Regions from separate parts of the Homo sapiens genome. Here regions 1 and 3 are each linked to region 2. Evidence: promoter capture Hi-C in human tissues and cell types (Jung and others, 2019). All regions are on one chromosome and are shown on one strand. Each heading gives the region's core, a stretch centred on a gene start or on the middle of the fragment in contact. The rest is flanking DNA. Distances are from core to core; before and after follow the strand shown.

Region 1 (4,908 bases), core at 1,568-4,067, 850 kb after region 2:
CCGCGCTGGTCTTGGACTCCGGGGCTCAAGCGATCCTCTTGCCTCTACCTCTCAAAGTGCTGGGATTACAGGCTCGAGCCACCATTGGCCTGAAGGCACACTTTCATCATCACAAGGAGAGGGGAGGAAAGAGAGCGTGGGTCTCCCAAGACAGAGGTTCACTGTGCATCAAGGCCGGCCCAGGGGTACAGGCACAATACCCGTGCCAAGGGGAGCCAAGCATTGTCCTCCGGAGTGCAGTTCCCAGTTGGATGCGCTAGACGGAGGGATTTCTCGCGGTGGTGAAAGCAGGAGCTTCTTGGAGGCGGGCAGGGAACACCCATGCTCTTTGAGGAAGAGGGGTGGAGCCACTGGGAAGAGGTGGGAGGGGCTGCTCTCCATCCTTCCCATCCTCTCCTCCTCTGGAGTCTCCTTCCTCTTTCTCCTGGACTCCCTCGGGGTGGCCTTCAGGAGGGAGTCGCCAGCGCCCAGGTGTGACTCTCGAGGAATCTGAATCTTAATGTGTGTAGATGATGCCGAATGTTGCTATTCAACTTTTTCATGTGAACCTGTCTCCGGAAATGGGGTGGCTTTGAGTCCTCTGTGCAGAATAATCACTAGGGAAGCTTTTAAAATATACCAGACCACTCCCCTGCACCCCTAAATATACCAGAGCCCAAGTCCAAGGAATGTGACTTAATGGGCCTGGGGCGGGGCCTAGACACCTGTGGCTTGTAAAAGTTTCCCAGGTGATTCTAAGGTGCAGCCCAGGCTGCATCCAGCCTGCATTCAGTTGGGCCTTCTGCAGTCTGTGTAGATGGAGGTGCTGCTCAAGTGATCCTTTGGAAAGTGAGCAGCTGAAACTGGCCCCTGGGCAAAAGTGGGAGAAGGGCAAATAGAAGTGTCTGGTAGGAAGGTGGCAGGTGAGGTGTGGTTGGAGTTCCAGCATGTTCAGTGCAGGGAGCAGAGGCTGAGAAGGGTGTGTGATGCACCTGCAAATACAGCCATCAGGGGCCAGGAAGCCAAGGTCGCCTTGCAGTCCTGCTCCAGAACTTTCTCCCTCTCAATTGGCCTTTTCCCGCTTCTGTTTTCTCTCTCCTCCCCTAGGAGGCTGTAAGCGAAGGACAGGTTTAGTGTCATGGGCCTGGCTCAGCCACTTGCTGGAACCTGGATCCAGGGTATTAGCTTCTCTGAAGTCAGGTTTTTCATCTGTTGAATGGGGGGAAAGTGCTTGCCCACCTCATAAGGCGACTGAGGCTTACACCAGGTCATCTGTGGAGCTCAGCTGTGGCTGTTGTTTTTACCTGGTCTTCCTCTTGATGGCTGCGGAACTGAGTGTCTGTTGGCTATTGAACCCGTGAGGCCCGCGTTTCCACATCTTCTACAATAGGGACAGTAATAGGTGGTGCACAGAGTGGGGAGGGAGTTAGAAGGGAAAGGACAGAGCACAAAAGAGGCAGCTGAGAAGTTGGGTTCCTCTGCCCTTCCTCCCTCTGTCTCAGCGCCATCCCCCCCACTACTCTTTCCCCTCAACAGCGCTCCTCTTGCGGTCCTGCTGAATAGTCATCCATTTGGAGGCTCTGGATGGAGCTTTTGGTTTAAAGAGGAGGCCAGGAGATGTAGAACAGCGATAAGGAAATGCACATTAGAGATAAAGGACCTGCTTAATCAGTCACAAAGACCTGTCAAAGAACAGTTGTGAGTGCTTGTTCCTAATGCTCCCTCCGTGGCAGGACTGGAGCCCCAGGGAGAGAAGGGAACTAAGCAGCTTCTCGCATCCATTCATTCAACCACTGGGCAAACATTGACCGAGCAGTTATATAGAGAGCGGCACCCACAGTATTTGGTGACGAGACTGCCTCTGCCATTGGGAGGTGTATCCCAGTGATAGACGCACTCAAGTCCTGGAGCATTTCAACACAGTGCGCCACATGCTGAGACAGGGGCTCAGCCCAGGGAGGCCACCTGGCCTTCGTGAAGCGGGAAGGGAAAGGTCTTCCAGGCCCAGCGGGTGTGTGCACCTGTGCAAAGGCCTCTGCAAAGCACGAGCCTGGCCGGTTTGGAGAACTGCAAAGAGGTCAGTACGAGGAGCTGGAGGCTGTGCAGGGGGCCAATAAAGAGAGGCCGGTGCGGCGGGGGCGGGGGGAGCTTTTGGAATTTTCAGAAGGGAAGTGATACGATCTGATTTGCTTTCCTAAGGTCTCTCATCCAGAGTGCAGAGAACACTGGCAGGGATTGTGGCTGGAGAAATGAAACGGAATCCTGGGTGATGCAGGTCCTCAGACAGCAGGGCTTTTAAAAGATTCTGAGACAGCCAGTCCTCCCCTCCCTGCTGCTGGAGGAAGGCTCTTGAGAACAACACAGCAACCGTCAGACCAGGAAGGGCAGGCAGTCCTCCTGCTGTCCTGTCAACAGGTGGAAATAAAAGTCCTTCACCCCAACAAGGCCACGGACCCCACGTCTGACGTATAGAAAAGGCTGGCCAAAACATGCACAATCACACGAGAGGCCTTTTTTTTCCTACTTTTTTTTTTTAAGTTTTTATTATTATTATTTTTTAGAGATATGGTCTTGCTCTGTCGCCTGGACTGGAGTGCAGTGGTGTGATTATGGCTCACTGCAGCCTCAAACTTCTGCGCTCAAGCAATTCTTCTGCTTCAGCCTCCCAAAGTGCTGGGATTACAGGTGTGAGCCACCACGTCTGGCCCAGAGGGCCATCTTTTGTCTTTGGATTCAGAGCCCACTTTGAAGGTGGCAAGTCACAGATGTTGGCATAATTGATGATGATTCCTGGGGCAGCCAAAGGAAAGGACCAAAATACAGACAGTCTCACCAGGCATGACAGCAGTGATAAAGAAAAAGCCACTCCCTTTTCCCCGCAGAAAAGAAAATGAAAAATAGGAATGGAAGAAAGAAAACTACGGAGAGTTGTAAAGATAAATGTCGGTGCTTACAAAGTATGGGAGTCTGGGCGTGGTGGCTCACGCCTGTAATCCCAGCACTTTCAGAGGCTGAGGCGGGCGGATCAGTTGAGATCAGACGTTCGAGACCAGCCTGGTCAACATGGTGAAACCTCCTCTCTACTAAAAATACAAAAATTAGCCAGCAGGCTAATTTTTATATTTAATTTTTAAATTAGTGGCGGGTGCCTGTAATCTCAGCTACTCAGGAGGCTGAGGCATGAGAACCACTTGAACCCGGGAGGTGGAGGTTGTGGTGAATGGAGGTGGCACCACTGCACTCCAGCCTGGGTGACAGAGCGAGATTCCCGTCTCAAAAAAAACAAAAAAAGAGTGTGTGGGAGATGAGAAACAGAAAGATGGGAGGCAAGTGGCTTGGGCTTGATCCCTCGGGATGTTTCAGTGTTGCACTGAAAATGAGGAGCTAGGCCGGGCGCGGTGGCTCATGCCTGTAATCCCAGCACTTTGGGAGGCCAAGGTGGGTGGATCACAAGGTCAGGAGTTCAAGACCAGCCTGGCCAAGATGATGAAACCCCATCTCTACTAAAAAATAGAAAAATTAGCCCGGTGTGGTGGTGGGTGCCTATAATCCCAGCTACTTGGGAGGCTGAGTCAGAGAATTGCTTGAACCCGGAAGGCAGAGGTTGCAGTGAGCCGAGATTGCGCCATTGCACTCCAGCCTGGGCGACAGAGTGAGACTCCATCTAAAAAATAAAAGTAAAAAATAAAAAAATTTAAAAAGCCGGGTGCGGTGACTCATGCCTATAATCCCAGCACTTTGGGAGGCCGAGGCGGGCAGATCACCTGAGGTCGGGAGTTCGAGACCAGCCTGACCAACATGGAGAAACCCCATCTCTACTGAAAATGCAAAATTAGCCAGGCGTGGTGGCGCATGGCTATAATACCAGCTACGCGGGAGGCCGAGGCAGGAGAATTGCTTTGAACCCAGGAGACGGAGGTTGCAGTGAGCTGAGATCGTGCCATTACACTCCAGCCTGGGCAACAAGAGTGAAACTTTGTCTCAAAAAAAAAAAAAAGAAAAGAAAAGAAAAAAAAGAAAATGAAGAGCTAAATGCAAACAAACAAGAAGAACTTGCCCAGGCTTATCCATTTGCTGTTGGCATTTATCATGATCTCTAAGATTGTGGTATGATTGCACAAGTAGAGTGCTGCCCGATTCCAGGAGGCACTGTGTACACTGCTGGCATTGTAGGCTCATCTATTTATGACAAGTTTTGGCCAATGGCACACAAGAAGCCACACAGCGAATGGCTGGGCTGATTGGCCACTCCTTGCAAGGCACCCTGGTGTCATTTGCCTCTTCTGTGTTACACCAGGTTGAGGAGACCTAAATGTCTAACAAACACTCATACACCCAAACACCCGCTCTTTTCCTCCATACTTTCAATCATGCGTGCCTTCCCGCAGCAGACGTTTGGGTCCTTCCTCTGAGCCTGGCACTATGAAGACCCCAAGGTAAACAACAGCTTTCCATCTGCTATGCGAATATATATGAAACGAACAGTCATAGAAATCTATGAATACAAAATCACAAGCTGTGATACATGTTGTGGAAGAAGATAAAAGGGTATTGTGAAGAGTGGAACCGGGGCTAACTTCCTATAGGGGTGTTCCCTGAAGCCCTCCCCAGGAAGACACATTTCCATCGGGATCTCAAGGATGGGTGGGAGCTGCACTAGTCAAGGAGGGGAAGGAGCTCCCCCGTAAAGGGGATTGCACAGCAGCGCCTTGGAAGTGAAGGGCCCCCTCACTTGAGAGGCCACAGGAAGGCTGGCCAGCAGGTCGGGAGCTGGGGGAGAGGGTGGAGACATGGTCTCCAGGCCAGATAAGGCTGGCCCAGCAGGCCAAGAAAAAGAGCTTGCATTTTGCTCACTGTGTAGTGGGTAGACTTTGAAAGGTTTTCAGCAGGAAGGAACATGAGGGGCATGCTGAAATTTGTGTTTTTAGA
Region 2 (4,675 bases), core at 1,589-4,088:
GGTATTGTATATATAAAATAGCCGGAAGAGAGGCTTTTGAATGTTCCTGTCACAAACAAATGATAAATGCATGAGGTGATGGATATGCTAACTACCCTGATTTGATCATTATACAACATATACACAGCATATATTGAAATGTCTAATTTACCCCATAAATATGTACAAGTGTCAATTTTAAAAACTTTGTTATTTTTTGGCCAGGGGCGATGGCTCACATCTGTAATCCCAGCACTTTGGGATGCCGAGGCAGGTGGATCACGAGGTCAGGAGATTGAGACCATCCTGGCTAACACGGTAAAACCCTGTCTCTACTTAAAACACAAAAAAATTAGCCGGGCGTGGTGGCAGGCGCCTGTAGTCCCAGCTACTCGGGAGGCTGAGGCAGGAGAATGGTGTGAACCCGGGAGGTGGAGCTTGCAGTGAGCAGAGACTGTGCCACTGCACTCCAACCTGGGCGACAGGGCGAGACTCCGTCTCAAAAAACAAAACAAAACAAAACAAAACAAAATTTTTTTTTAAGAATTAGGAATTCCTAGGACGTAGCAAGCTGCTCTTTCAGCTCTGTCCACTCTGTCATCCCACGTCGCTCCTATTCCCTGTTTCCTCCCTTCTTTATATCTATTCTACTCCTAAATTCCTCCCCCTTATTCTTTATTGCTATGTATGGAAGTCTGGGGAAAAAAAAGTGAAGGGAAAGAATCCGATCTGGAGGGCAATAGTAGGGAAGGGGAAAAGAGTAGGTATTTAGGAGAGGAGATGAAAATCCTCTCGTTTCTGAACCGATCTGATGAGTCAGCAAAGAAGACTTACCACAGCTCCAGGACTTTGGGGGGTAGCTTTTCAGGGACCTGGTAATACTGAAGGACCCAGGAGAGGACTTCTTGCCACCGATCCATTTCTGCCAGGGCCTGGATCCCCACAACACACAGGGAGCACTTCACCTCCAATGAGCTGTCAGCAGAAAAACCAATTTCAGTTAGAAGTGGTTCCCCTCCATTTCCATTCCCACCTCCACCTTGGGACTGTTCCTCTCCAGCTCCCAACTCAGCAGCCATCATCTCTCTCATCCCTGTTAGTATTTAGATGGGCTTCACAATTGGTCTCATGGGCTGCCCTTTCCCCCAGGAACTAAAAGTTCCTGTAACCCTCTTTCAAGAGGCAAGTCAGCTGTTGCTCAACGTTCATCTTTGTATCCAGGTGAAATCAGATTTAAATGAAGAGGAAGGGTAATCCTGAGGGGGAAATAACACACAGCACCGGTGTGTGGCTGAAAAGAGAGCTGGAACTAAGAGTTTGCTCTGTGAACAAATGGGCTTGGAGCAAGGTTTCTGGCTGAGTGGAGGTATAGACTCCATAGCTGGCTAAAAGGCACCACCTAGTAAGGTTCCTCCAGACACCCAGAAGCAAAGCCTTCTGCATTCACTGAAATGAGCTCCCACCCAGTCCCCTAAAACACAGCCAGGGCTCTCCAGATCATCCTTCTTTGTGGTCAACTTTAGCTATTCTACCTACCACCTCCCTAGCGTGGCCTAACCCAAGTTTACAATGCAAAGAAATGACTCCCTCACCTGCCAGACGAGGCTGGTGGCATTAGAAAGAGCAATGCAAGCCCAAGGTTTTTTTCTCCGGATTCTTTTCTTTTTCTTCTTTTTGGTAGAGAAGAGGGCTCATTATGTTACCCAGGCTGGTCTCGAACTCCTGGGCTCAAGCAATCCTCCTGCCTCGGCCTCCCAAAGTGCTGGGATTACAGGCGTAAGCCCCAGCTCCCGGCCCTGAATTAATTCTTTAATCCAGTCCTCTAATTGGACCAGAACGCTGCTCCTGCCATGACCCCCATTCCCCATCATCAGCCAAGGTCAGGAATAAACAACCTTGGGCGGGGCGGGGAGGGCGGAGGTACCTGGGAGAGGACTTTTACCACCTGCTTACTGACAGAACTTAGCACTTAATACACATTCAGCCTTCCCATCATGTCATTGTACCTTGGAACAAGGAGCAAATAATTGGCTGTGGGATCCCCACTAAGTTTTTGTTACACGACTTCCCTTCTCTGTAGAATGGGCACACGATGAGCGACCACCCTCTCGGAGACAAACCACTGATGAAAGCGAGGTGTAAAGCTCCTTGTGGGCAATCTGGGAAGGACAGAACTCCTGAGACCTTGAGCCCCACCACAAGAGCGCCCGGAAATCGGTTCATTTCCGAGCCCAGCACGTACGTGCCCGCGGGTTCCTCTGCCACGGCGTGGTTGGCCAGACTCTGCCAGGCCCGCTCGCAGGTCTCCAGCGCCGCCCGGAAGTCCAGGTGCACCACCAGGAGGTCGGCCGCCTCCTCCAGAAGGTCCACGGCCGGCGCCCGGGCCGGGACCGCGCGCACCGGCTCGCTGCTGCGCAGGGGTCCCCCGAGCCCCCTGAGGGGGGCTGCAGAGGTCGAAGAATCGCTCTTCATAACGAGTCCGGGTCCAAGGCCCAGGTCCTCAGACGTCGGAGTGACCGCCTCCCCAGAGGCTCCGGGATATCCCGAGTTGGCCTGGGCGAAGAGGGAGAGTCCTCATCTCTTTGCCCACACCCCTTCCCGAGGTCGATTCCCCGAGAAGGAAAAGGAAGGGGCCTATCTGAGGCAAAAGCTGGGCTCGCCTGGAGGCTGGGGAAGCAGTTTACACGTCAGATTTGCAGGATTCTTGCATCCCTGGAATACCTGGCCCTAGCTTCTCCGGCCCCGCGACACGTGCAGGAACTGCCTCAGCTCCGGGCTCCTGGTTACGATCAAAGACTCACCTCGCCTCCCGGCAGCGGGCGCGGACATCTTTGCGCTCGCCCAGCCCCGCAGCCGCGCGGCGTCCCGGCGGCGCGGAGTACTCTAGGAGTTGTAGTTCCTCAGCTCTCGGCCCATCGCCTTCTGTAATGGAAGTAGGAGGCAGAGCGCGGACTACAACCCCCAGCACGCCGCGCCCCGGAAGCCGCCCCTGTGCCGTGAGAAAACAAACTGGTGCTACAGCTTCGGGGTGCGGAAGTCAAAACGAAGCAAAACCGAAGCTGTCTTGTGAAATGGAGGGGTCCTCACTAACCAGTTCCAGCGGAGGCTAACGGAAGAAGTGCCAGCAATGGATGTGCAGCTACATGCACGCTTTTAATTCAGAGCTTCTGCGACGGTGGCGATCAGGGGATCTGTAATGTAATGTAATGTCAAGGCTGACGCAGAGCTGATCAAACATTTTGGCAACCTTAGTCTTGAATTGATTCACACTTTCTCCGCGTTGCCTCCGGAGTTTGCTGTAGGGTAATGAATATTGCCTGGTGAGGATGAGGGACTTAGGGTGGAAACCTTCACAAGGACCACTGAGAATATGTTGGTCCCAAGGGCAATGTTCCAAAATGAATAGTGACCCCACCGAGGCGGGGTTGGGGGCGCTGAGCATAAGGGCCTCATTTTTCTCACTGCTCTCTGCCCCATCCTGAATTTGCTGTTAAAAAACAACGTTAAATGCAGATACCAATTCCACTTCCCCACTGTTGTCACTTCCGATCTGTCTTTATATTTCTCCTTATCATTTATCACCATCTACATACCAATGTCTATATTTTACTTATTTTTATTGTCTATTTCCTTCCACTATGATATAAACTCACAAAGGCAGACGTTTTTGTCTCTTTTGTTCACTGTGGGAACCTCAATGCCTTGAACAGTGCCTGTCATCTATAGGTAGTCAAAAAGTATTTGTGGAATAAATGAAGTCCTGGTTTCACTTTTATCTGGTTACAGGGTCCAGACTTCTCTTTCCTCGGAGTCTGGTGGACTTGGTTCTGCCTCAGCTTCCCATGCAGACTTTTCTGCAAGAGAACGGAAATCCCAGAAGATGGATGTGTGCATGTCTGGTGACAAGGGCAGGGGATGTATGATGTGAGCAGGTGCCTGTTTAATCTAATTTCTAGGAGAGCAAAGATTCTAGGGAAGCTTTGGAGTGAATTCAAAGGGTAGAGAACTGGGGAGAAACTAAAGCCAAGAGGATCTAGTACAAATGTGGGAAGCTTGGCAAAGCCCGGGTGAAACAGAATATAATAATAAGTGTGATTTGTGGATCTGTTTAAAATTATTATTATAGTTACAATTTACCAAATACTCTGTTCCCAGTACTTTACTATAAAGTGCATTATGTACGGTATGGTTTTGTTTTTCACAATGTCCTTATTTTACATTGTGTAACTTGCTCATGGAATGACTGTGTATCCCCTGAATAGCAAACATACTTAGTTCTGTCCCTGCAGAGCAGAGTAGAGCTCAATACACATCTTTGAACCAAAAGAGCCTCGGTTTGACTGAGATTTTGTCGCTTACTAGTTGTGTGACCTCGGCAATTTATTTAAATAAGCTCTGATTTCCTCACCTGTAAAATTGGGATAACAGTTTGTCCTTAGCTCCCAATGGCTGAGGGAAGAATTAAGTAATATTGCGCATAAAGCGCCATGCGCATTAAGCACTGAAAATGTGAGCCAGGCCTGGGAAGACGAACATGCTCAGAAGCGGCCAGCTCTAAGCGGCTGCTGCCTGGAAAAGTCCCTTTCCTAACAAATTTCTTGCTATTCCAAATTTGTCCAGGAGATGGAGGCACAGTCTTAACAGAAGCAGCCTTGCTAAAAGTAAATTTGCCTATTTAGTAGTGAGACAGCCAGAA
Region 3 (4,470 bases), core at 646-3,145, 560 kb after region 2:
ATGAACAGGAGGGACAAAAATAAAAACTGCATACGTTAACACTGTACCCATAAGGTGTCTCAGTGTAACAAACAGAATTAAATAACAACCATAAAATCTTTATCCTATAGCCAGAGCAGGCCAGTTTCAATATGGTGGATGTTGATTCTGAAAAGGGGATGCTATGGACACTTGGCAAGGACGACTGTCCCGAAGACTGCAACTCTGGCCACTGCTTCCCGAATAAATGTCTGTCAAGCACCTTCCCTAAATTTTGCCATAATCCCTGCTCTCACTTCCACCCCACTTCCAAGGTTCTTAATTGTTCCAGCAACATCTTTACCCAGCTGAGATATGATGAAACTGCAGTTAACAAAGCAAAGTAAAACAAAACTATTTGCCTTTGCTCTTTTCAGATGTATACTGATGCCAAAAAAACACCATAAGGTATCAGTTGACTCACATGGGCAGGGGAAAGAGAGGAGATAATACTGAGCCTTGTCACTACAGTAACCAAAACAGCATGGTACTGGTACCAAAACAGAGATATAGACCAATGGAACAGAACAGAGGCCTCAGAAATAACACCACACATCTACAACCATATGATCTTTGACAAACCTGACAAAAACCAGTAACAGGGAAAGGATTCCGTATTTAATAAATGGTGCTGGGAAAACTGGCTAGCCATATGTAGAAAGCTGAAACTGGATCCCTTCCTTATACCTTATACAAAAATTAATTCAAGATGCATTAAAGACTTAAATGTAAAACCTAAAACCATAAAAACCCTAGAAGAAAACCTAGGCATTACCATTCAGGACATAGGCATGGGCAAGGACTTCATGACTAAAACACCAAAAGCAATGGCAACAAAAGCCAAAACAGACAAATGGGATCTAATTAAACTAAAGAGCTTCTGCACAGCAAAAGAAACTACCATCAGAGTGAACAGGCAACCTACAGAATGGGAGAAAATTTTTACAATCTACTCATCTGACAAAGGGCTGATATCCAGAATGTACAAAGAACTTAAAGAAATTAACAACAACAAAAAAAATCAAACAACCCCATGAAAAAGTGGGCAAAGGATATGAACAGACACTTCTCTCTCTCTCTCTTTTTTTTTTTTTTGAGATGGAGTCTCGCTCTGTCACCCAGGCTGGAGTGCAGTGGCGCCATCTCGGCTCACTGCAAGCTCCACCATTCTCCTGCGTCAGCCTCCTGAGTAGCTGGGACTACAGGCGCCCGCCACCACGCCTGGCTAATTTTTTGTATTTTTAGTAGAGACGGGGTATCACTGTGTTAGCCAGGATGGTCTCGATCTCCTGACCTCGTGATCCTCCTGCCTTGGCCTCCCAAAGTGCTGGGATTACAGGCGTGAGCCACTGCGCCCGGCCGAACAGATGCTTCTCAAAAGAAGACATTTATGCAGCCAAAAGACACATGAAAAAATGCTCATCATCACTGGTCATCAGAGAAATGCAAATCAAAACCACAATGAGATACCATCTCACGCCAGTTAGAATGGCGATCATTAAAAAGTCAGGAAACAACAGATGCTGGAGAGGATGTGGAGAAATAGGAACGCTTTTACGCTGTTGGTGGGAGTGTAAACTGGTTCAACCATTGGGGAAGACAGTGTGACAATTCCTCAAGGATCTAGAACTAGAAATACCATTTGACCCAGTGATCCCATTACTGGGTATATACCCAAAGGATTGTAAATCATGCTACTATAAAGACACATGCACACGTATGTTTATTGCGGCGCTATTCACAATAGCAAAGACTTGGAACCAACCCAAATTGTCCATCAATGGACATCAATGATAGACTGGAATAAGAAAATGAGGCACATATACACCATGGAATACTATGCAGCCCAAAAAACCCAAAAAGACGAGTTCATGTCCTTTGCAGGGACATGAATGAAGCTGGAAACCATCATTCTCAGCAAACTATCACAAGACAGAAAACCAAACACCGCATGTTCTCACTCATAGGTGGGAACTGAACAATGAGAACACTTGGGCACAGGGCGGGGAACATCACACACCGGGGTCTGTCAGAGGGTGGGGGACTGGGGGAGGGATAGCATTAGGAGAAATACCTAATGTAAATGATGAGTTGATGGGTGCAGCAAACCAACATGGCACATGTATGTATACCTATGTAACAAACCTGCACATTCTGCACATGTACTCTAGAACTTAAAGTATAATAATAATTTAAAAATCCTACTTACAATAAAAAAAAAACCTGAGCCTTGTCAAAGGGAAGATTTCATTGAAAGAGAATTGTGATGCTTTATGTATGTCAGACCCCAAAATGAGAGGAAAACAGGTATATCTATATATCAAACATGAAAGTTATTTACAGAATTACCTATGTGTATTCTGGCCACTCTCCCCCACAACAAAAGACAATAGGTGTAAACCTGTGAAATATTCTTCTTTCATCAGTACAGGGTACATTAAATAGAATCTAACATTTTAATAAGGACTGAGCAAATGCAAGCCAATTACTCATGAAATTGTAATGTTAAGTCACTCAAGACTTGATAATCTGGCCAGGCACGGTGGCTCACGCCTGTAATCTCAGCACCTTGGGAGGCCAAGGTGGGTGGATCATGAGGTTAAGAGATTGAGACCATCCTGGTAAACATGGTGAAACTCTGTCTTTACTAAAAATACAAAAATTAGCTGGGCACGGTGGTGTGTGCCTGTAGTCCCAGCTACTTGGGGGGCTGAGGCAGGAAAATCGCTTGAACCTGGGAGGCGGAGGTTGCAGTGAACCAAGATTGTGCCACTGCACTCCAGCCTGGCAACAGAGTGAGATTATGTCTCAAAAAAAAAAAAAAAGACTTGATAATCTAAACCAACATAGGAAGTGTTCATGTGTTAAGTCAGTGGAGAGGGAGAAAGAGAAAAAACCCAAAAGCCAATAACCTAAATCTTACTAATATATAATTCTTTTTCTGTAATGAGTATGACTTATTATTCTTAATATGTAATATCTCACAATCAGTTAACAGTGCTCCCCTCAAACAAATGGAACACGAACACAAAACTCACAAACAATATATAAAGCACACGAGGGGCCGGGCATGGTGGCCCATGCCTGTAATCCCAGCACTGTGGGAGGCCGAGGTGGGTGGTTCACGAGGTCAGGAGATCAAGACCTTCCTGGCTAATGTGGTGAACCCTGTCTCTACTAACAATACAAAAAATTAGCTGGGCATGGTGGCGGGCGCCTGTAGTCCCAGCTACTCGGGAGGCAGAGGTTGCAGTAAGCTGAGATTGTGCCACTGCACTCCAGCCTGGGTGACAGAATGAGACTCCGTCTCAAAAAAAAAAAAAAAAACACAAAACACCTGAGGGAACTTTCCAGATGCTTGGTGTGAGGTGGAGGAGCAGTGGCTGCACGGACTGCACAGAGCTACAGGCCCCTCCCCACTCCCCACCACCAGCCTCAGCCCACTCACTGGCTACAGAAAATTGTGAAAGAAACCACTTACTATGACATCTTGGGGGTCAAACCTAATGCTACCCACGAAGAACTGACAAAGGCTTAAAAATGGCTTTGAAGTAATACCCTGGTAAGAATCTAAATGAAGGAGAGAAGTTAAATGGATTTCTCAATCTTGAGAAGTTCTCTCTGATGCAGAGAATAGGGAATTCTATGACAAAGGAGGACAGGCAATTAAAGAGGGTGGGGCTGGTGGCAGTTCTCATTCCCCCATGGACATCTCTGCTAAGTTTTTTTGGGGGAGAAGGAAGGATACTAAGAGAAAGGAGAGGTAAAAACTCCTACATCAGCTCTCAGTAGCCTTAGGAGATCTATCCAATGGTGAAAAAAGAAAACTGGCTCTGCAAAAGAATATGATTTGTGACAAATGTGAAGGCAGAGGTGTTAAGAAGGGAGCAGGATCCTGCTGTGCCAACTGCTGAGGTGCTTGAATGCAAACAGTAATTCATCAATAAGACCTGGAATGGTTCAGCAAATTCAATCTGTGTGCATGGAGTGCCAAGCCCATGGGGAAACCATCCGTCCTAAAGATAGACGTGACAGCTGCAATGGAAGGAAGACAGTTGCAGAGAAGGAGATTCTAGAAGTCCATATTGACAAAGGCATGAAAGATGGCCAGAAGATAACATTCCGTGGTGAAGGATACCAAGACCAGAACTGGAGCCAGGAAACATTACCACTGGGGTAGAACAGAAAGACCATGCTGTTTTTACTTGACAGGGAGAAGACCTTTTCCTGTGTACAGACACACAGCTGGCTGAAACACTGTGTGACTCCCAAACGCTAACATCTGCTTTCAAGACTGAACCATGGTCCAGGTCAGAATGTCAAGCACGGGGACATCAAGTGTGTGCTAAATGAAGGAATGCCAATTTACTGCACACCGTATGCAAAGCGTCGCCTAATCACTTAATTTATGTAAACGCTCCTCAGAATGGCTCTCTCTCCTAATAAACTCTC

What was found. The method cuts DNA at HindIII sites, captures the fragments that hold promoters and counts their contacts. A contact is called where the count stands out against the background at its distance.
Region 1: a fragment that was not itself captured here is called in contact with the fragment with the promoter of PEX26 in region 2 in 1 of the 25 tissues and cell types used here (lymphoblastoid cells).
Region 3: a fragment that was not itself captured here is called in contact with the fragment with the promoter of PEX26 in region 2 in 1 of the 25 tissues and cell types used here (lymphoblastoid cells).

What each region holds. Positions count from the first base shown.
Region 1 is chr22:17,229,670-17,234,577 of GRCh38, reverse strand. No RefSeq gene overlaps it. Among named protein-coding and RNA genes, the nearest start is that of ADA2, 13 kb to the right of the region's middle. RefSeq lists an enhancer at 1-175. The HindIII fragment of the contact is 6,517 bases long and covers 1-4,908 here.
Region 2 is chr22:18,076,153-18,080,827 of GRCh38, reverse strand. It overlaps PEX26 (peroxisomal biogenesis factor 26), which reads right to left and starts at 2,838. Exons shown (of 5, transcript NM_001127649.3): 1 at 2,222-2,838; 2 at 814-954. The coding sequence starts at 2,451. LOC105372853 (a long non-coding RNA gene) reads right to left here. Exons shown (of 6, transcript XR_001755424.2): 6 at 2,932-3,170. RefSeq lists enhancers at 2,015-2,064, 2,545-2,774, 3,105-3,164 and a silencer at 2,425-2,474. The HindIII fragment of the contact is 17,547 bases long and covers 1-4,675 here.
Region 3 is chr22:17,518,168-17,522,637 of GRCh38, reverse strand. The region is part of intron 8 of CECR2 (CECR2 histone acetyl-lysine reader); the gene reads right to left. It also overlaps the pseudogene DNAJA1P6. Among named protein-coding and RNA genes, the nearest start is that of SLC25A18, 43 kb to the left of the region's middle. The HindIII fragment of the contact is 6,795 bases long and covers 1-4,470 here.